Regions from separate parts of the Homo sapiens genome. Here all the other regions are linked to region 2. The links are contacts of gene promoters, found by promoter capture Hi-C in blood cells and fetal thymus (Javierre and others, 2016). All regions are on one chromosome and are shown on one strand. Each heading gives the region's core, a stretch centred on a gene start or on the middle of the fragment in contact. The rest is flanking DNA. Distances are from core to core; before and after follow the strand shown.

Region 1 (2,714 bases), core at 22-2,521, 390 kb before region 2:
AAGTTACAGGCTGCATTAGGGGAAGCCGTGAGCCTGGTGTAAGGCAACAGGGATTGGTGGGAACCGATGATCCTCAGCTCCAGCCAACCATTGAGCAGGTGACAAAGTGATGGTGGACCCTCCAATTATCTAAGACAGGCAAGAAATTTAGATTGTTAGGAGAAACTTTCTGATTTTTAAGGCAATATGTGGGCCAAAGAAAACATCTACAGGTCACTCATGGGCAATCCCGAGTGAACCAGGCTCCCTCAGTCTGGTCCAGGCTCCCTCAGTCCCTTCTACACATCACTGTCTGATCAGTTTCCCAAACACAGGGCTCCTGATCACTGCTATCTCGGAAAGCACAACTACTGCTACAAAGTCCTATACTGCCATTCAACCTCCACAGTAATAAAACCAATCCCTACCTTCCTTAACTCCCCTACACAGATCTTTCACTTCACCCAAAGGAGTCCACTCCCCCACCCGTCACCCCCGCCACTGTCCCCGCCAAGATGGCCTCCTTCCTACTCTCCTCCCCTACCCACCAGAGCCCACACGGTGCAGGAAACAACCCATCAACCGGGAGGACGCCCTCCAACACCTGCTGATGACGGACTGGCTCACTGGGTAACACCCCTTTGCTCAAAGCCGATGATTTCATGCCCAAGAAGGGATTTACATCTCCCAGGAGGCAAATGCTATGGCCTTGTCCTGATTCCCCCACCCCCCAAAATAATAACATTGTAAAAGGGAACGGAGAGCCTAAGTTGCGCTCAGAGGAGCCGCCTCCCTAAGAAGGCTCTGCATATCTTCACCTCCAGGAAGGCCTCACGGAGTTGGGGGAGAGGGGAGTCCCCGCAGCCAGCCCAGCGAGGCAGGAGGCCGTGCGCCACTCCCGAGAAGCTCCTTCCTGCGCCCCGGGGGAGCCACTTCAGTCAGACCCTGAGCCGGGACCCCGACCCGCCGACCCCTGACGCGCGCGCCGCGAAGGCCGGGCACCCGAGGGCCCTTCGCGCTACCCGGGCCCGGGGCCGCCGTCGGCTGCGACAAAGGGTCAGAGAACAAGACGACCCCTCTGCGCGCGTCCCCCGCAGGCCTCCCGGATGCGCCGCTGTCCCGGCCGCGCCCACCCCGACGCTGCCGCTACCTTGTCCTCGGGTGGCGCAACCGGCTCATGGGCCACCCTCTGCCTCAGCTCTGTCATCCTGGGAAAATCGGCCCGACGTCGCCGCGAGCTAGCAGCGAAGCCGCCGGAGCAGGCAGCTCGGCGCGGGCACGCGCGGACTCCCACGGCCGGCCCCGCCCCGCCCGGGAGGCGCGCGGCTCTGAGCGGCTCACAGTTCCCTTAGCAGCCCAGCAGCCAGCCCTGGAGCTCGGCCCCACCCAGTGCCGTCACCGCCCTTTCACCCGGGCCGAGCGGGGTCAGCCTTCCCTAGCCCCGACCCGAGAGCTCCCTCTCCCGGGAGCAGGGCTCGGAGCGAGTGCGCACGCGCAGCGCCACCATCACGGTCCGGAATATCCACCAATGGCGCAAATACGCCAGGGAGGCAGGGCGACGGGGGCGGGGCGGGGCGGAGCAGAGTCGAGAGGCGCGCATTGGACGGCAGCGTCAGGGGCGGGAAAAGGCGTGCGTTTCAGTGTGCGATTAGCCAATGGGAGCTCCCGCTTAACCGCGGATGGCCGGAGCTGGCGCCCTGGTTCTGGAGGTAACCGGTTACTGAGGGCGAGAAGCGCCACCCGGAGGCTCTAGCCTGACAAATGCTTGCTGACCTGGGCCAGAGCTCTTCCCTTACGCAAGTAAGTAGACGTTATTTAGGTCGAATGGAAAGGCCAGGTGAGCCGACCTGGTTAAGAGCATTTTATCACTTATCACATGATGAGAAATGAAACCCACGCTTCAGTCTGCTTTGCTTTGCCAAGCGGTCGCTAGTACTTGTTAAGCACTAATTGTATACTAGGCACTGAGCTGAGTAATCGCTTTAGTTGGCTTATCTCGTTTAATCCACACATGGCTTGGAAGTGGGTATGATTTGAATTTTACAGTTAAGATCTTCCTCAGTGGTTTGTTTGTTTGTTCGTTTGTTTGTTTGTTTTGTGACGGAGTCTCGCTCTGTCGCCCAGGCTGGAGTGCAGTGGCATGATCTCGACTCACTGCAACCTCTGCCTCCCGGGCGCAAACAATTCCAAGGTGCGCGCCACCACGCCCGGCTAACTTTTGTATTTTTAGTAGAGACGGGGTTTCACCATATTGGTCAGGCTGGTCTCGAACTCCTGACCTCAGGTGATCCGTCCGCCTCCGCCTTCCAAAGTGCTGGGATTACAGGCGTGAGCCACCGAGCCTGGCCCTTCCTCAGTTTTTCAAATTTGTCTTCTGGACTATGGAAAGACCTTTTTTGGGACAGAAGTGCTGTCTACTTTGTTTACTGTGCATCCTCTATGTCTTTGACACATCCATTGTAAGTACTTGTTGGATGGATTTAAAACTTTTAAAAGGACCTTAGCCAAGGTCTCCCAGCTAGAAAGTGCCTAGTAAGAATTAGAACACAAACAGGTTTGTTACCAGCCCACACTCTAACCACCATACTATACTGCCTGCCTGCATTTATTAATACTTGTGTTGCTCCAGCATTGCCTTTGGTGTTTCCTGTTCTTTCTATTCACTGCCCTGTAAGTGATGTAAAACACATATAACACTGCGTCCCCAACTTAAGCATACTGTAATCTCACAATGA
Region 2 (2,692 bases), core at 44-2,543:
TTTATTAAGAAATCTGCACTGTGAGGTAAATGATTAAACACTGACTCTTTCTCAACATTAGATAATTCTTTTTATTCATCAGAGAAATGTGATTTATGACACATTTAAAAGCATGTTTAAGGCCGGGCATGGTGGTGTATACCTGTAGTCTCAATTACGTGGGAGGCTAGGGTGGGAGGATTGCTTGAGCCTAGTAGTTCTAGGCTTCAGTGCGCCATGATCACACCTGTGAATAGCCACTGCACTCCAGCCTGGGCAACATAGCAAGATCCCATCTCTAAAAAGAAATTTTGTTTTAAAGCATGTTTAAAACATACATACACCAGCCTGGCCAACATAGTGAAACCCTGCCTCTACCAAAAATACAAAAATTAGCTGGGCGTGGTGGCACGTGCCTGTAATCTCAGCTACTCGGGAGGCTCAGGCAGGAGAATTCCTTGAACCCGGGAGACAGAGGTTGTGGTGAGCTGAAATTGTGCCACTGTGCTCCAGCCTGAGCAACAGAGGGAGACTCTGTCTCAAAAAACAAACAAACAAACAACAAAAAAACCATACATAGAAATGTTCCAGTAGAATACAAAGAACCACTTTCTAGAACTGAATGCACCAGAGAGGATTAGAAACCCACTTATTCTCTCCCAGCTTCAAGTATTTAACGTTCCTACTTTTGCACGTGGCAGCCTTGCTGACTCAGATCCGAGGGCGTTGAAAGACAGATTCACAATTTCTGGTCCATATTTGATGCAAATATTTAGAACTATCTAGCAGAGCTTGCTGCCTTTCCAACAATCCAGTTAGTGAATTGAGAATGTTCTCATTTAATAGAAATGAAAGGTAAACGAAGGATCCACCTGGCCATGGGACTGGAGGAATGACCCAAGCCATGCTTCATAGAGGCACAGATAGACACCCTCAGGGAAGCCGAGACCCTTTGAAAAAAGGGCCTGGTGTGTGTATTTTCACACTGCCCCCTGCTGGCTGACACTGGAACATTGATTCTTCCTGCTGACACTGGAACATTGATTCTCCTGTGGCTCTAAGACGACCTAACAGGATGAGGCCAGCGGGCCCCCCGCAAGGAAACTTGAGCTAGAGGCAGTTGGATTTGGCTGAGACGCTCTCCTCAGGGAAGGCCAGGTCTGGGAGTGGGTTTGAACAGCAGTGGAGAAATAACTTCCATAGGGCATGTCAGAGTAAGTTCTAGTGTTTCCAAGAGAATGGGACAGGATCTTAGTGGAATTTAGAAGCCAGGCAGGTGGAAAAGCATTGAGGACCCCATCCCAAGGGCTCGAGTCCCTAGAGACAGCCTGGAAAGATTGGGTGCCAGCTGCAGAGAGGAGAGCAAGGCGACCAAACGCAGGGTAAGGTCTGGAGGTGCTCATAGTTCACTACGGGACATGTACATGGAAGTGAATAATTATGTCACAAGGTGCCAAGGGGGCTAGTTACCTCACATAGGATCTTAGAAAAGGTCTCCTGGAGACCATGTCTGAGCTGGTCCTGAGGTGTGAGTAGGGATTCTCCGCAGGGCGGGGAAGGACTTGAAAGAGTCTGGCAATATGGAGCACATCAGGATTATGGAAGGTGAGCTTGGAGAACAAGGCAGAGTCTAGCCTGTGAAAGGCCTCTTGCAATTTGTTGAGGATCCATGACCTTCTCCCATGCATGGTGAAATGCCCTTAAAGGATTTTGAATAGATTTAAAAGACACTCAAAAACAAAAAACGGTAGATTCAAAATAGACGGTAGGGATCGCTTTCTTCCGTTTTCTTTGAAGGATCAGAAGTGTTTACCACCACCTGGATTGTTTTTGGGCTTTCAGGTGAGTGGGAAAACAAAGAAATTCATGCCTGATCATGTTGAGCCACTTATATAATGTTGCTTTGACACTAATGGAGATGTAACTTCTTTTAAGACATAATAGAATCTCCTAAGTGGGTGTGGGAGTCGTAAGAAGGAGGAATCTGGGCTTCTACAAGCAAGATAGCATGTATTCATTTATTCAGTCAGTCAGTCGCTGGATCGATGCGCTTAGCTTTGTGCTCTGTGCTGGGTGCTGTGTGGGATATAAAAGAAGGTGAGGCCGGGTGCGGTGGCTCATGCCTGTAATCCCAGCACTTTGGGAGGCCAAGGCAGGTAAATCATGAGGTCAGGAGATCGAGACCGTCCTGGCCAACATGGTGAAACCCTGTCTCTACTAAAAATACAAAAATTAGCTGGGCGTGGTGGTGTGTGCCTGTAATTCAGCTGCCTGGGAGGCTGAGGCAGGAGAATAGCTTGAACCAGGGAGTCGGAGGTTGCAGTGAGCAGAGATTGCACCACCGCACTCCAGCCTGGCAACAGACGAGACTCCGTCTCAAAAAAAAAAAAAAAAAAAAGAAGCTGAAATTCCAGCTCTTATCCCCCAAGGAATCTGTACATCTGTACTCTGCTTGGGAATCCACAGAAGAAGGAAAGAATGCCAGCAAAGTAAGATCATGCTGCATGACCTCAAGATAGATGTTAAGGACATTTTGATGGGATAAAGGGAATCTTTGCTAGTTCAGAGATGAGCTTTACTGGCTTTGAGCTAAGTGATAGACATAAGTGGGTGGAGTGCAACTGGGGAGAATTTCAGGCCTGGGTAAGGGCCAAGTGTGAATGGATGGTCTCATGTAGGAAGCCATCAGGATAGGCATAGCAAATCCAGGAGT
Region 3 (2,688 bases), core at 50-2,549, 470 kb before region 2:
TTATCTAGATGACTTATGATTTTTTTTCTTCCCTGATTCCTCTAGTTAGAACCTTCAGTACAATGTTGAATAGAAGCAGTGAAAGTAGACATCCTTCTCTTGTTCCTAGTCTTAGAGCAAAAGCAGTCAGTCACCATTAAGTATGACATTTGCTGTGGCTTTTATATAAATATCCTTTATGAGGTTGAGGAAGTTCCCTTCTCTTTCCAGCGTGTTGAGTGTTCTTATCATTAAAGAGTACTGGATGTTGTCAAATGGTTTCCTGAATTTATTGAGAAATAAATGTCTTCTCAGGGGAAAACAGAATTTTAATCAGTGCGTCCTAGTAGATGCAATAATTGTGGCATGGACAGGTTTGTATCCTGTGCCTTGGGTCGCTCCAGAAACACAGCCATTGGGTTTTCTCTATTGGGGACCAGCCAGCTACGGCCCTAAACATTCTTGGAGTGGCTTGCCATCAAGGGGGTGCTGCTCTGGAGCACAAGGCAAGTAGCCACCATCAATCCTTCTGAAATACATAGCTTAAAAAAATCACACTCTGACTTTAAATTTGGCATCAGCACTCAGCCACATTATAATCACACCAGCCAGATTTTTAATTAAGGCCTCAGGCTCCAAATAATTTGGGTGACACATTGATAACAAAATAAGAAAGAGTTATTGCCAAATGACATTTGATTGATGGGCTTGGACCTGTAAAGAGGATTGTCTTGAGACCCTTAACAATATAGTTGACCAAGTTGCTAAATCTTTATAAGCCTCAATAGCATAACCTATTAAATACGTAGAATAATATTTAGCTCATAAGGATGCTATGACGATGAAATGAAATGGTGCAAATAAAGAGACAGTCACAATACTTGGTCCAGGACAAGCTTTGATAAGTGTCATTAATAATTAACTATGAATAAGCCTTCCCACATAGTATTTCAATGATCCATTTTAAATGTCTCTCTTAATAACAACGGCAAGGCATTATTTGTTTTTGTACCTTATTTTTATGAATAAATGAAAGAACAATCCCAGCTAGTAAAGAAAGGAAAAGGAAGGGAGAGGAGGGGTGAGGAGGAGCACTTCTGAGCTCAGTGAATGACTAGGCTGAAGCTCCGTACTATGACTTTTCCATTTCCCTAAAAGCCTTCTGGTTATGTTCTCAGAAGCCACCACCTCTCTCCTCTCCAAAGGACCCCAACAGAATCTTAATCATCACGGATTGGCAACTTCACAACCTTAGCACGCTGACAAACAAAAATCAGCTGTCAATGACACAGAAGAGGCCTGTTTGTCCCCCTCCCACCCTGTTCTCATTCTTCAACCACCAAACCACCTCTCTAAACAGAGGCCGATCTAGGCCAGGCAAGGGAGAAAGATCAGCTATTTGTTGGGGAGCCCTGCTCTCTGGGAACTCAGCGAATTAACAGCAGGATGCCTGAGGGGTAGGTAGTCTACCACCTAGGGAGAGCAGAACAGGGAGGACAGCCAGCTTTTAAAACTCTGCTCTTAACAAAAAAAGAAAGAAAAAGAAAACAATCGGCTTTATTATGAACTTCATAAGGACAAGAACCAGGTTTTGCAATCACTCAAGGTATCTAATACAGTGGCCCTTTAGTCTAATTTATCAATTTTTTTCTTTTATAGTGAGCCTTTTTGTGTCGTGTTTAAGAAATCTTTGCCTACTCTGAGGTCATGAAGGTGGTCTCCTATGTTTTCTTCAAAAGCTTTATTGCTTTACCTTTCACATTTAGATGGATTTAAAAATCCATCTGGATTTTTGTTGTTGTTGTTGTTATGATGTGAGGTAATTTTTCACATGAATATACAATTGATCCAGCACATTTATTGAAATGACTGGTTGGGCACACTGACTCATGCCTGTAATCCCAGCATTTTGGGAGGCCAAGGCAGGAGGACTGCTTGAGGCCAGGAATCTGAGACTAGCCTGGCCAACATAGCAAGATCCTATCTCTATATATTAAAATAACATTTTTTAGAAACCAGATATTTAACACCAATGGTACAGTTTATTTAGAAAAGGCAGGAAACATGCTTCTTTCCTTTCATTAACTAGTTTTATAAATAGAGTTGGTTTGCCCACATCCTCCAATACTGATAACATGAATTTAGGTATTATTATGAATTCATGTACTTAAATATAATCAATGTGTTTCCATCAACTGCAGTTATTACCCTTACTGATGTTCAAAATGTCCCATGTTTAGGAGCCTCTTCTTGCTGGCTCTGCCTCATTTTGACATGACCCTACTGTTTGCTTTTTATGGCTTCCTTGCTTTCCGGTATGTTTGCAGCAATAAATAATGGACAGATAGAAAGTCTTTGGTCAGATAACAATCCCTCAAGGTTGACTGATGGCTCTGTAGAGTTCAGTGTGAGCAGCTACTTGTGCAACAGCTATGTTCAGGGGCAGGGAGACCCAAACCCAAGAGTAACTCCCCCACCCAGAATGGGGCCACCTCGGGGGTGACATGAAAAAGCCAAGCGACCGGGCACGCTGGCTCATGCCTGTAATCCTAATATGTTGGGAAGCCGAGATGGGCAGATCACTTGAGGTCGGGGGTTCAAGACTGGCCTAGCCGACACGGCAAAACCCTGTCTCTACTAAAAATACGAAAATTAGCTGGGTGTGGTGGCAGTGCCTATAATCCCAACTACTCGTGAGGTTGAGGCACC
Region 4 (2,725 bases), core at 181-2,680, 480 kb after region 2:
GCTTAAGAGGCCCTACGAGCACATACTGAGATTTTCCAGAGAGGAAGGAATTCTGCCTCAAAACTGGAACGGAAATTCTGCCTGAGTTTCCAGCCTGCAGCCTGCCCTACAGATTTCAGACTTGGCAGCCCCCACAATTGAGTGAGTCAATTCCTTAAAATACAGAAAAATAAAGAAAAAAATATTTTATAAATATATATATATATATATATATATATATATATATATATATATATATATATACAGAGAAACAGACCCAGACCCAACAGGTATATATATATATACACACACACATATATATCCTGTTGGTTCTGTTCCGCCAGGAGAGGGACAATGGGAGAATCCAACTGTTACAGCCCTGCAGATCAAAGAGCTATAGATGGCTCACTTCCAAACTGGTCACCTGTACTAATGAGGATATATTTAGATATCATGAACAGAAGGGACACTGGAAAAATCATCCCATTTGAAAAAAAAAAAAGTATCTCAATTTAGATGAATGAGGGTTCTCTAAGGAAAGAAAAAGTACTCAATAGCCTGCCTTACCCTTAAACATCTAAGGCAAATTAACTATTATAAATATAGATGGTCAACCTCATTGACTCCTGGTAGATATGGGTGCTACTCTTTCTGCAATGAATGCTGCCACCTTCGTTCAACCTCTTCCTTAAACACACCACACCGGTGGCAGATATGTCAAACAGCCCACAAAATTTCCCTATGTCTTAGCCCTTAAATGTAACCCTTGGGCCCTTCTTAAATGATGGCCCTGAATTAATGACTGCCAAGTGGGGGTGGAAATCTCTTAATTTCTTAATCTCTTAATTTAAGACATCTCTTAAATCTCTTAATTAAGAGATTAAGAAATCTCTTAATTTCTTGGTTCCCATATCCAGGTTGCTGAATCTTGTTAGAAAGCATCACAATTTCCTGGTCTCCAACCTCTCAGCTGGACTTTTGAAACTGTTTAGCAATCATATTTGCCCCTGGACAATCTTACTGGCCCCTTTCTCATTTCCCACAATGGTTATTACAAAATCTTATTATTCTTTTTAATTCCCATAACTCCCCAACACCCACATCAGGCAGGACCCTTCTGGATTTCTGAACCCAACAACCTACAAACATCTTCATCTTCCTACCCTCTGTTCTAGTTTTCTCTCTGAAGCAAACTGCTGCAACTGGGCTTAGAATACCACGCCCTGCTACCTATCGAACATCTTACTCCATCCCTCTGCACCTCCTCCTGAACCTTCAACTTCTACCTCCTTATTGAATCTTTTCTCAAAGCTTATAAACACACTCAAACCTCTTCCATCAGAAAGAGTCCACTCCCATTTGTTCTTTCATCTCTTTTTGCATCCGCAACAACTTCCTGCCTCTACTTTCTCACTCCCATTCCCTCCTTGGCCTTCTGTGCTGTACTGGAGGACATCTGAGTTATTTCCAGGTTAAGTATTATGGCCGAAGCTGCTATGAATATTTTTATACATGTCTATGGGGGGGACATAAGCTGAATGTCCCCCCCATAGACATTTCTAGATCACAGGCTATATGTATATTAAGCTTTAGTAACTGCTGCCTTGCAAATTTAAAGGCAGTAAATAATTTCCTCAACTGTCAGTGTCAAAAAGCCTGAAATTTAAAAAACTCATTTTGCCTTGTATCAATCAGCTTTTGCTACATAACAAACTCCGTTGATATCTCAGTGACATGCAGCTAGAAACATTTATTTCTCGTTCATATGTCTGCAGATTGCTTGGCATAGCTTCACTGCAGATGTCTCATTTTGGTGTCTGACATGAAGATGCAATGGCAACCTGAAATATGGTATTTTTGTGGTGATGGCAGAAGCACAAGAACACGAACCCAATCACACAAGCAAATTCAAGCTCCTGCTTTTGTCACATCTGCCAACATCCCCTTGGCCAAAGCAAGTCATATGGCCAAGCTCAATGTCAAGGGGCAAAGACAATTATTGTTCCCACCATGAGGCTATGGAAGGGGTATGGATGTATAATATTACTACAGAGGAGTGAAATGTGGTCACCAATTATGCCGTCTTCATGCACTTATAGACCAATCTTTGCCTCCGCCACAGTTGCTTTGGGGAAAAAAATCCACCTACATAGTATGCGGCAGCATCTTCCTTGAGGTGAAAATCCAGTGTGCTAGGCTCCAAACTCTCTGCTAAATCCCAAGCCTGATGAGACATGAGCCTATTAACTGAGCCCCATGCTTAAGCAGATTTATTCACCCACTACCAGGCAACGCTATTCCTACACAGGTCCATCTACATGGAGGTAGGGACCACCCCTAAGGAAGGGATTCCTAGGTAGGGCTCATGGCATACATTGGAGATAAGTTCTATTCCATGGGCCAGTCACCCCCACGCTGACAGCAGGGGCACGTACTCCTCTGATCCAGCTCCGTGTTCGTGCCTCTCAAAGCGTTCCTCCTAGGAGAAAGGGCCCCACCCCTGCCCTAGACAGACTATGCTCCTTGGGATGAATGAAAGCCCTCTCCAATCATCTCTTGCAGAAGGGCTGACACCTTGGGACACAGACATATACTGTAACCCTCAGTGACACTCAGAGGTGCACAGTCCTTCAGGCATTCATTTGCTTACTCATTTGTTGATGCATGTTTTCATCCACTAACTCAACATTCACTGAACCACTTCAAGAAGCGAGCACTGCGCTGGCTGCTGAGCATAAAAAGACAA
Region 5 (2,688 bases), core at 87-2,586, 300 kb before region 2:
CACAACTGATTTTCATGTATTGCTTTTGTGTCCTGCTGCTTTGCCAAATTTGTTTAGTAGTTCCAAAGGGTTTTTTGTGGAATCTTTAGGGTTTTCTAAGATCATATAATCTATGAATAATAATTTTCCTTCTTCCTTTCCAATTTGGATGCATTTTCTTTCTTTCTTCTTTTCTTTCTATTCCCTCCTTTTCCTTTTCTTTTTTCTTTTCTTTCCTTTTCTTCCTTTTTGCCTAATTGCTCTATCTAGAAATTCCAAGACTACGTGGTATGGAAGTGGTGAAAGTGGGCATTCTTGTCTTGTTCCTGATCTTCGAGGAAAAAGTTTGTCTTGCATCATTGAGTATGATTTAACTATGGGGTTTTCATATATGGCTATCATATTGTGGTAGTTTTCTTCTATTTCTAGTTTGCTGCATTTTTTTTTTAATCATGAAAGCGTGTTGAACTTTTTCAAAAGCTTTTTGTGCATTGACTAAGATGATCATGTGGTTTTTGTCTGTCATTCAGTTACTGTTGTGCATTACACTTACCGATTCTGGGATTGATTTTAAAGCATTCATTCCTCCAAACACACTCCCAGGGTTAGGTCTCTTACCTCTGCATGTATTTAGGAAAAAGACATAATATGACCAACTTCCCAACTATTAAACCATGTTTAGGATAAACTGTATTTTGTTATGGTGCCTTATTTATTTATTTATGAGACGGAGTCTTGCTGTGTCACCCAGGCTGGAGTGCAGTGGCGTGATCTCGGCTCACTGCGACCTCCGCCTCCCAGGTTCAAGTGATCCTCCTGCCTCAGCCTCCTGAGTAGCTGGGATTACAGGCACGCACCACCACATCTGGCTAATTTTTATATTTTTAGTAGAGACAGGGTTTCACCGTGTTGGCCAGGCTCGTCTCGAACTCCTGACCTCAGGTGATCTGCCCCACCTTGGCCTCCCAAAGTGCTGGGATTTACAGGCGTGAGCCACCGACCCTGGCCTGGCGCCTTCTTTTAAATAAGTTTTTTTTTTTTTTTTGAGATGAAGTCTTGCTCTGTCGCCCAAGCTGGAATACAGTGGTGTGATCTCGTAACCTCTGCCTCCCGGGTTCAAGCAATTCTCTGTCTCAGCCTCCTGAGTAGCTGGGATTACAGGTGTCCGCCACCATGCCCGGCTAATTTTTGTATTTTTAGTAGAGATGGGGTTTTGCCATCTTGGCCAGGCTTGTCTTGAACCCCTAACCTCGTGATCCACCCGCCTCGGCCTCCCAAAGTGCTGGGATTACAGGCATGAGCCACCGCGTCTGGCCCTTTTAAATAGTTTTATACTGCATACTATATTCAGTCTTTAGTGGTAGATGAATTCTTACTCTGTTGTTGCGTGCCCTGGAGAGCATAGTTCCTTGGAGACACCAAAGGAAGATTTTTCCAGGAAGGTCTTTTGGGAAGGGGCCTCCTCCAAGAAGGGAGTGAGGAAGGAGGTAGATTGAGTCAATGCACTTTTCCTCTATCTGGTCAGAGTTCTTGAAGGTATTTTTCTTCTGAACTTGGGTGGGGTTTGCAGTGGGGTAGGGGAAAAGAGAAATGATTCTGACACATACAAGAAAATGCTCCTTTGTGGGGCACGGGGGCAGGAGTTGCTTCCAAAAGGACCCAACAAAGACCTGTAGGGAACGTTTAAATTTATCTGTGTGTGGCCGGGCATGGTGGCTCATGCCTGTAATCCCAGCACTTTGGGAGGCCAAAGTAGGTGGATCACCTGAGGTCGGGATTTTGAGAGCAACCTGGACAACATGGTGAAACATGGTGAAACCCCGTCTCTACTAAAAATACAAAGTTAGCCCGGCATGGTGGCGCGTACCTGTAATCCCAGCTATTCGGCAGGCTGTGGAAGAAGAATCTCTTGAACCTGGGAGGCGGAGACTGCAGTGAGCCAAAATTGCGCCATTGCACTTCAGCCTGGATGACAAGAGCGCAACTCTGTCTCAAAAAATAAATAAATAAATATCTGTGTGAACTAGCACTTGAGAGACTGCAGCCTCAGGCAGTTTTCAGCCCTGTGCACACAATGAAATTACCTAAGGGGCTTAAAAAAAAATACGGAAGCCTGGGTCCCACCCCAGAGGCTCTGAGGGAAGTAACCTGCAGTGCAGTTTTTAACCATCCACAGGTGTTCGTCATGCAGCGCCAAGGTTGGGTAATGAAGAGCTGACATTGATTGAAGCTTACTCTGTGCCAAGCTCCATTCTACAAGTTTTACTTCACAATAACCTTACAAGACAGGTCTACTGTTATCCTTCATAGAGGGCCATTGAGGCACAAAGAGGTTAAGTGCTGGCCAAGGACACCCAGTTCATAAGGGGTATTCTCTCCACTTGAACTTCAGAGCCCATGCCCCTTACCACAGTGCTGTGCCAGCAAGGGTTGCATGCCAGGCCCTGCCATGATCCTGCCCCAGTTTCCCCTGGGGAAGAGAAATGAGCCAAAACCTAAAGGGCAGGAGTAGCTGGCCATGGTGGCTCATGCCTGTAACCCCAGCACTGTGAGAGACCGAGGCAGGAATATCACTTGAGCCCAGGAGTTCAAGACCAGCCTGGGCAACATAGCAAGACTCTATCTCTACAAAATAACTGTTTTTAATTAGCCAGGTGTGGCAGAGTGCGCCTGTAGTCCTAGCTACTCAGGAGGCTGAGGTGGGAGGAT
Region 6 (2,688 bases), core at 81-2,580, 440 kb before region 2:
GAGAAACACTCACAAAATAAAAGGGAAAATCCAACTCCCAATTCTCACCAGATCATTCCTTCAAATAGGTTGTGGATAACAAGATGTGACTGTGTTACAACAATCAGCAATGTCACATGGGTCCAGCCAAACTGCAAAAAAAAGAAAAATAAACACTACTTACCAGTTTACCTTGAAAGTAACTTCAAAGAACAATCAATACCAAATAGAAAACTGCTGAGAAGCAGGTAGGAAAAATATCTGCTTTTGTATCTGACTTATTGAAAGTGAACAGGTAAGATCAGGCTTCTGAGAGTAATACTTTGTCCCCCACAGCCCACTAGTGAGTGAGCTCTCCCATGCTCTGAAAGCCTGGGTATTTTTCATTTTCTTAGTAGTTATTGAGCACCTGGAGCACTCAGAGAGGAGCTGTTCTCTAGTGAGTCAGGGAATAAGTGGTAGCAAGTGATGTACCAGACAGGACATCTGTGGGCAGTGTCTGAAGCTTCAGCTTGTGCCTTCTCTGGAGCCCACCTCAGGGTCCTAGTGGAGAGGCTGCTTAAGGTGTAAGTAACAGTGACTGGGTCTAAGTCAACGTAGAGCCATTAAACCTAAATGGGCATTCTTCCTTCATGCTCTAGATGCATACATATCAGACCATGTTCCTGAGTTTTGATTTGTCACAGAAAGCATGAAAGGCTTGTTGAGTTCCTGAAAAACTTCATTTAAATCAAGAATTCTGACACACACGCATGCATTTCCTTTACCATGTAGAACTGCAGTCGATAATGCTTCTTGACCAGACTCAGTACAAACATGCAGAATCCTAGTTTGAGGTGGGAGGAGAAAAGAAAAATGAATTATGTTCTGCATTTATCTTTGCCCTCCTTTAGCTATGTTAAGTGGTTCTTTGGCTAATTTATTCCCAGCAGCTAACCAGTGCACAATGTCAAAGCCCAGGGGAGAAAAACATTACCCAGATAAACAGTCACAAGGAAAAAATAACTCCTCCCAAACAGTAAAAGGAAGGCAATATTTTATAATCATGCAGACCACACTAAACTTAGAACATGGTTCATCAGATAGGAATGTTTTATTCCTAGAACATGGGCCAGCAAACAGTGGTCAGGCCAGCTGCTTGTTTTTATAAATAAAGTTTTATTCAAACACAGTTATGTCCATTTGTTTACATATTGTCTATGGCTGCTTTCAAGCTACAACTCAGCAGAACTGAGTACAGTCATGCTCTGAACAACGAGGTTCTCGTCAACAACACACCACATACACAACAACAGTTCCCTAAGGTTATAATACCCATAGATTATAATACCATAAGATTTACTAATTACCATATAGTACCTTTTCTATGTTTAGATACACAAATACTTACCATTGTGTTATAATTGCCTACAGTATTTATTTAGTAAGGTAACATGCTGTACAGGTTTGTACTCTAAGAGAAATAGACTACACATTATAGCCTAGGTGTGTAGGAGGCTATACCATCTAGGTCTGCATAAGTACACTCTACAATGTTTGCACAATGACAAAATGACAACAATGCATTTCCGAGAACATAGCCCATGGTTAAACGATGCATGACTGTAACTGCAAGAGACCCTATGGTCCCCAAAGCCTAAAATATTTACTGTTTGGAACTTTAATAAAAAGTTTGCTGCCTGTTGTGCCTACAGAGTAGCAATTCTTTTATTCCTTTACTTTCTTAATAGACTTGCTTTCACTTTCCTCCACAGACTCGCCCCAAACTCCTTCTTGTATGAGATCCAATAACACTCTCTTGGGGTCCGGGTCTGGACCCCTTTCTGGTAACATCTTTCTGGTGAACCCCAAAGGGACAATACTGAGGAGACCCCCAACCCAAAGGAAATAGACTGCAGCACTGATTGGCTGACTTTGGTTTTTTTCTGCAATTTAGACTGCTTGTTCCTGTGAACCAACCAGTGATCTCTGGCTGCAGCTCAGAAGAAACAAGAGGGATTGGTGATGTAAAAATCTGAATCAGTATTCTAATTCTGGGAACATATTGCAATCAGCTACCGACCCCGTATCAGCTTGGTTCCAACAATTACCCAGTTCATGGAAAGCCTTCTTTAGTTTACTTGGGATAGTTTTGCTTATTTTGCTTTACTGATATGGAATAGTTGTACTATTTGTGTAGGAATGCAGGATAAGCTTACTCAATGTTCTCTTAAACACTTACAAAATCTTCCAGATATCACTTTGTGTCCGAGCTGTGAATAGCCCTAACCATACTGACACTTTCTGACTGAGCTCCTCTCTACCCTGAATACAAGAGACCTCGATAGGTAGGCAGGAATATCATTGCCCCTAATCAGCCTGAAGAAGTTACAGAGGATGGATCTTCGTCCCTCTGCAACCCTTAGGATTAAGGGTTCTCTTATAAAAGTGATGGGGGAAATGTCAGAGGCATTTGAGCTAGAGCAACTCCATCCTGAATAGGAGCTGGGTAAAATGAGGCTGAGATCTACAGGGTCTGCATTCCCAGACGGTTAGGTATTCTAAGTCACAGGATGAGATAGGAGGTCACACAAGATACAGGTCATAAAGACCTTGCTGAGAAAACAACTGCAGTAAAGAAGCTGGCCAAACCCCTCCAAAATCAAGATAGCAATGAGAATGACCTCTGCTTGTCCTAATTGCTACACTCCAATCAGTGACATGGCAGTT
Region 7 (2,688 bases), core at 136-2,635, 460 kb after region 2:
GCAGGAATCCCTACCTTTGTGTGATATTCTCCTACAGCCTAGCAATGCAGGTGCAGGAGTGGAGTGGGTGGTTGGGTTGATTTGATGTTAGACATTTTGAGGATAATATTGGTGAAGAGACAATGGGGACAAGAATTTTGAGACCCCTCAACAGGGAAAGTGACCAGAAATATGTGCTTTCTAATGATGAGGAGAGACAGCAGGTGGCATGTATCACAAGGAAAGAATTTTTTTCAAGGGTGTTATAAAGTGATGGTATAAAACTGATACTTGGAACCCAACACAGCTCTATGTTTGATGAAAAGTGACATTTTATTCAAGGCAAGAAAGTCAAGGGAACTTTCCAGGAAAAACCCAACGCTGTAAGAATATTTGTTTGCCTAGAAACTAGGCTAGAAAAGGCAGAGTGAAAAGGTGAAGATGGCAGTCAGCTAAGGATGGAAGGGTGTGTAGGAGTTGAAGGGAATGGGCAGAGAGACTCTGGAGAGACCTTCTCCTGGAACAGAACTCCTGGTCAGTGGACTGACATACAAAGCAGCAGCTACAAGAAGAATTAACTAATGATCTTTTGCAATTATACTGGGAAAGATGGTCATTTGGTTGCTTAAATAAGTATGATCTCTCATTAAGTGAAAATATTTAAGCTTCTTATTGGAATATAATGAAGGACCTCACATTTGTTAAAATGAAGGAGGGAGGAAGGGAGGAAGTCAAGCATAGTGTTTTCTTTTTCACAGGCCATAAGTGCAAACAAAGAAACCACTACTACTTCTTAAAGGAGGAAGAAGAGGAGGGGGAAGGAGGAGGATTAATATAAAGAAGAAGCAGGGGACCACAACCCCATCAATCCAGCTTCTCAGTAGGTCATAAAAGCCCAAGATCAGCGTGGACCAGAGCAATCAACAAAGACTTCCTGGAGGAAGCAGGATTTGAGCAAGTCCTCCAAGGAAAGGTCAATGGGAAGTGCACATCTCAGGATGACAGCTTGGGCCAAGCTGAGAGGCAGTACCATCCTGATAAGGCTCCTGTAAAAACAGATGGATTTTACCCAGGGGCCTGGGGAGATGTTCTCTGGCAAGCAGCTTGTTACATCCACAAGCAAAGAGAGCTGGATCCCAGGAAGAGGGAGATGGGACAGGGAGCTCCCCTGGGGATAAGGCAGATGGAAACAGTGGGCCAGAGCAAGGGAGCCTGGGGCCAAGGATGAGCAGGAGATGTGCCTGGGGCCAATGGAGCTGGTAGAAAGGCCAGCCCACTAGAGCAGGGAGCCCAGAAGGGGGACTGGAGATGAAATGTGCCCACCTCACAGCTATGCCTGACACTAGCCCTAGGAGATGACGAGGTAAGGTGCCCTGCAGACCTTTTCACATGTGGTGCTCTGCAAGCCCTAATGCCAGCTCACACATCTCATCAGGGTCTTGGTGGCAGGCTGGTGTCCAGTGCCTGCTGCTTGCTTTCCTCTTCAGAACCTGATTCCCTGAACCCTGCTGACCCTACCCAAGCTAACATTCTGAAGAGTCTCTGCCCCAGCCTCCTGCCCTGCAGGCCCCACTAGATATCCTCTCTCTCACTCTCTCCCAGTGTGGAAAGAGCCCTGGATGAGGAGTCTAGTTCTGATCAGGGCCAGGAAAAGCCAGCACCCATCTCTGGTCCTCTCTGTCCCCCACAGGCACAATGGGCGCCGTAATACCAATTCTGTCTATGTCGCAGAGCGCTTTAGGATGGAACGAGGTAAATGTGCAGGAAAGCACTTTGGAAACTTTCAAATGTTTTGAAGGTTTATTATGATTATTATTCATGTCTGATTTCGCCGCCTCTGTGGAGCCCCAGCTCGAGTTTGTGCCTACGCGATGCCAAAACAACCAGTCAAATCCATCAAAAAGTCACTCAATTGAGTGGGAAAAAATGCAGACAGCTCTGTTGTGTATTATCAAAAAAATTAAGCTGCAGGCAGATCACTAGTGTTTTTGAGAACGTGCAGTGGGTTGTTCTAGGCACTGTTTTGAGTTTTTCTATCTAAGGCTTTCACCTCCCATGAACCAATTTTTTTAAAAAGATGACAATAGAAAAATCAAGGCCCTCAGTTGTTTCCCAGGAGTGAATATGGCTTCAAGATGTCAAGCTTAAGAGAGAAGAAGACAGATATTCTTGCAGAGGAGGGCCTGTCTCTCTCTTGACCCCTCACTCACAGCAGGTCTCAGGCCAGTGGGCTATCTTTCGTTGGGAAGGTCAGCTAAGAAGCAATTTTGAAAGCTCCCCACATGGGTTGGCATGGGGGCGGTGGGCAGTGGGGTGGGAATGAAATACCTGAACAGCCTGCCAAACCCACAAAGGCTTCAGGAGCCCTGGCCTTGACTGCAAGGGGCAAGCACCCAGGAGCTGAGGACCAGTGGTATGAGGGGTTGGCAACAGGGGATAGAGAAGATTTTGAGATAAGAATATGTTTTTAAAACATAAATGTCCCAAGAGGGTTGCTCCAGAGTGGCAGAGGAGAAACTCAAGCCAGTTGATTTTCCTCCATGTGAGCAGTTCCACTGAACATTTTGCTGGGGGGAAAGATGGAATCTAATTTTTAAGAAGAGGTTTGGCTATCATTCATGACTTTTATTTATGCAGGCCTCCTTGACACATTATTCTCATCAGGAGGTATCTGGCTCAAAAATGAAATTGCTGGATGGAAATGGGAAT

The links. The method cuts DNA at HindIII sites, captures the fragments that hold promoters and counts their contacts. A CHiCAGO score of 5 or more calls a contact.
Region 1: the fragment with the promoter of CDS2 here is called in contact with the fragment with the promoter of PRNT in region 2 in 1 of 17 cell types (naive CD4 T cells); the score reaches 5.0 in naive CD4 T cells.
Region 3: a fragment that was not itself captured here is called in contact with the fragment with the promoter of PRNT in region 2 in 3 of 17 cell types (naive CD4 T cells, activated CD4 T cells and total CD8 T cells); the score reaches 6.2 in naive CD4 T cells.
Region 4: a fragment that was not itself captured here is called in contact with the fragment with the promoter of PRNT in region 2 in 4 of 17 cell types (M1 macrophages, M2 macrophages, megakaryocytes and 1 more); the score reaches 10.1 in M1 macrophages.
Region 5: a fragment that was not itself captured here is called in contact with the fragment with the promoter of PRNT in region 2 in 2 of 17 cell types (endothelial precursors and activated CD4 T cells); the score reaches 6.2 in endothelial precursors.
Region 6: a fragment that was not itself captured here is called in contact with the fragment with the promoter of PRNT in region 2 in 2 of 17 cell types (naive B cells and activated CD4 T cells); the score reaches 6.7 in naive B cells.
Region 7: a fragment that was not itself captured here is called in contact with the fragment with the promoter of PRNT in region 2 in 2 of 17 cell types (endothelial precursors and M1 macrophages); the score reaches 5.9 in endothelial precursors.

What each region holds. Positions count from the first base shown.
Region 1 is chr20:5,125,565-5,128,278 of GRCh38, reverse strand. CDS2 (CDP-diacylglycerol synthase 2) reads right to left here and starts at 1,271. Exons shown (of 13, transcript NM_003818.4): 1 at 1,130-1,271. The coding sequence starts at 1,186. It also overlaps a transcript of PCNA not described here. RefSeq lists enhancers at 433-522, 1,099-1,600 and a silencer at 863-1,782. The HindIII fragment of the contact is 13,373 bases long and covers 1-2,714 here.
Region 2 is chr20:4,739,269-4,741,960 of GRCh38, reverse strand. PRNT (prion locus lncRNA, testis expressed) reads left to right here and starts at 1,293. Exons shown (of 2, transcript NR_024269.1): 1 at 1,293-1,361. The HindIII fragment of the contact is 12,166 bases long and covers 1-2,692 here.
Region 3 is chr20:5,206,547-5,209,234 of GRCh38, reverse strand. No RefSeq gene overlaps it. Among named protein-coding and RNA genes, the nearest start is that of CDS2, 81 kb to the right of the region's middle. The HindIII fragment of the contact is 843 bases long and covers 878-1,720 here.
Region 4 is chr20:4,257,585-4,260,309 of GRCh38, reverse strand. No RefSeq gene overlaps it. Among named protein-coding and RNA genes, the nearest start is that of ADRA1D, 9.7 kb to the right of the region's middle. The HindIII fragment of the contact is 276 bases long and covers 1,293-1,568 here.
Region 5 is chr20:5,043,740-5,046,427 of GRCh38, reverse strand. No RefSeq gene overlaps it. Among named protein-coding and RNA genes, the nearest start is that of SLC23A2, 44 kb to the right of the region's middle. RefSeq lists a silencer at 970-1,189. The HindIII fragment of the contact is 1,750 bases long and covers 462-2,211 here.
Region 6 is chr20:5,180,504-5,183,191 of GRCh38, reverse strand. It overlaps CDS2 (CDP-diacylglycerol synthase 2), which reads right to left. Exons shown (of 13, transcript NM_003818.4): 6 at 747-805; 7 at 49-131. Among named protein-coding and RNA genes, the nearest start is that of CDS2, 55 kb to the right of the region's middle. The HindIII fragment of the contact is 1,688 bases long and covers 487-2,174 here.
Region 7 is chr20:4,276,861-4,279,548 of GRCh38, reverse strand. No RefSeq gene overlaps it. Among named protein-coding and RNA genes, the nearest start is that of ADRA1D, 29 kb to the right of the region's middle. The HindIII fragment of the contact is 1,478 bases long and covers 647-2,124 here.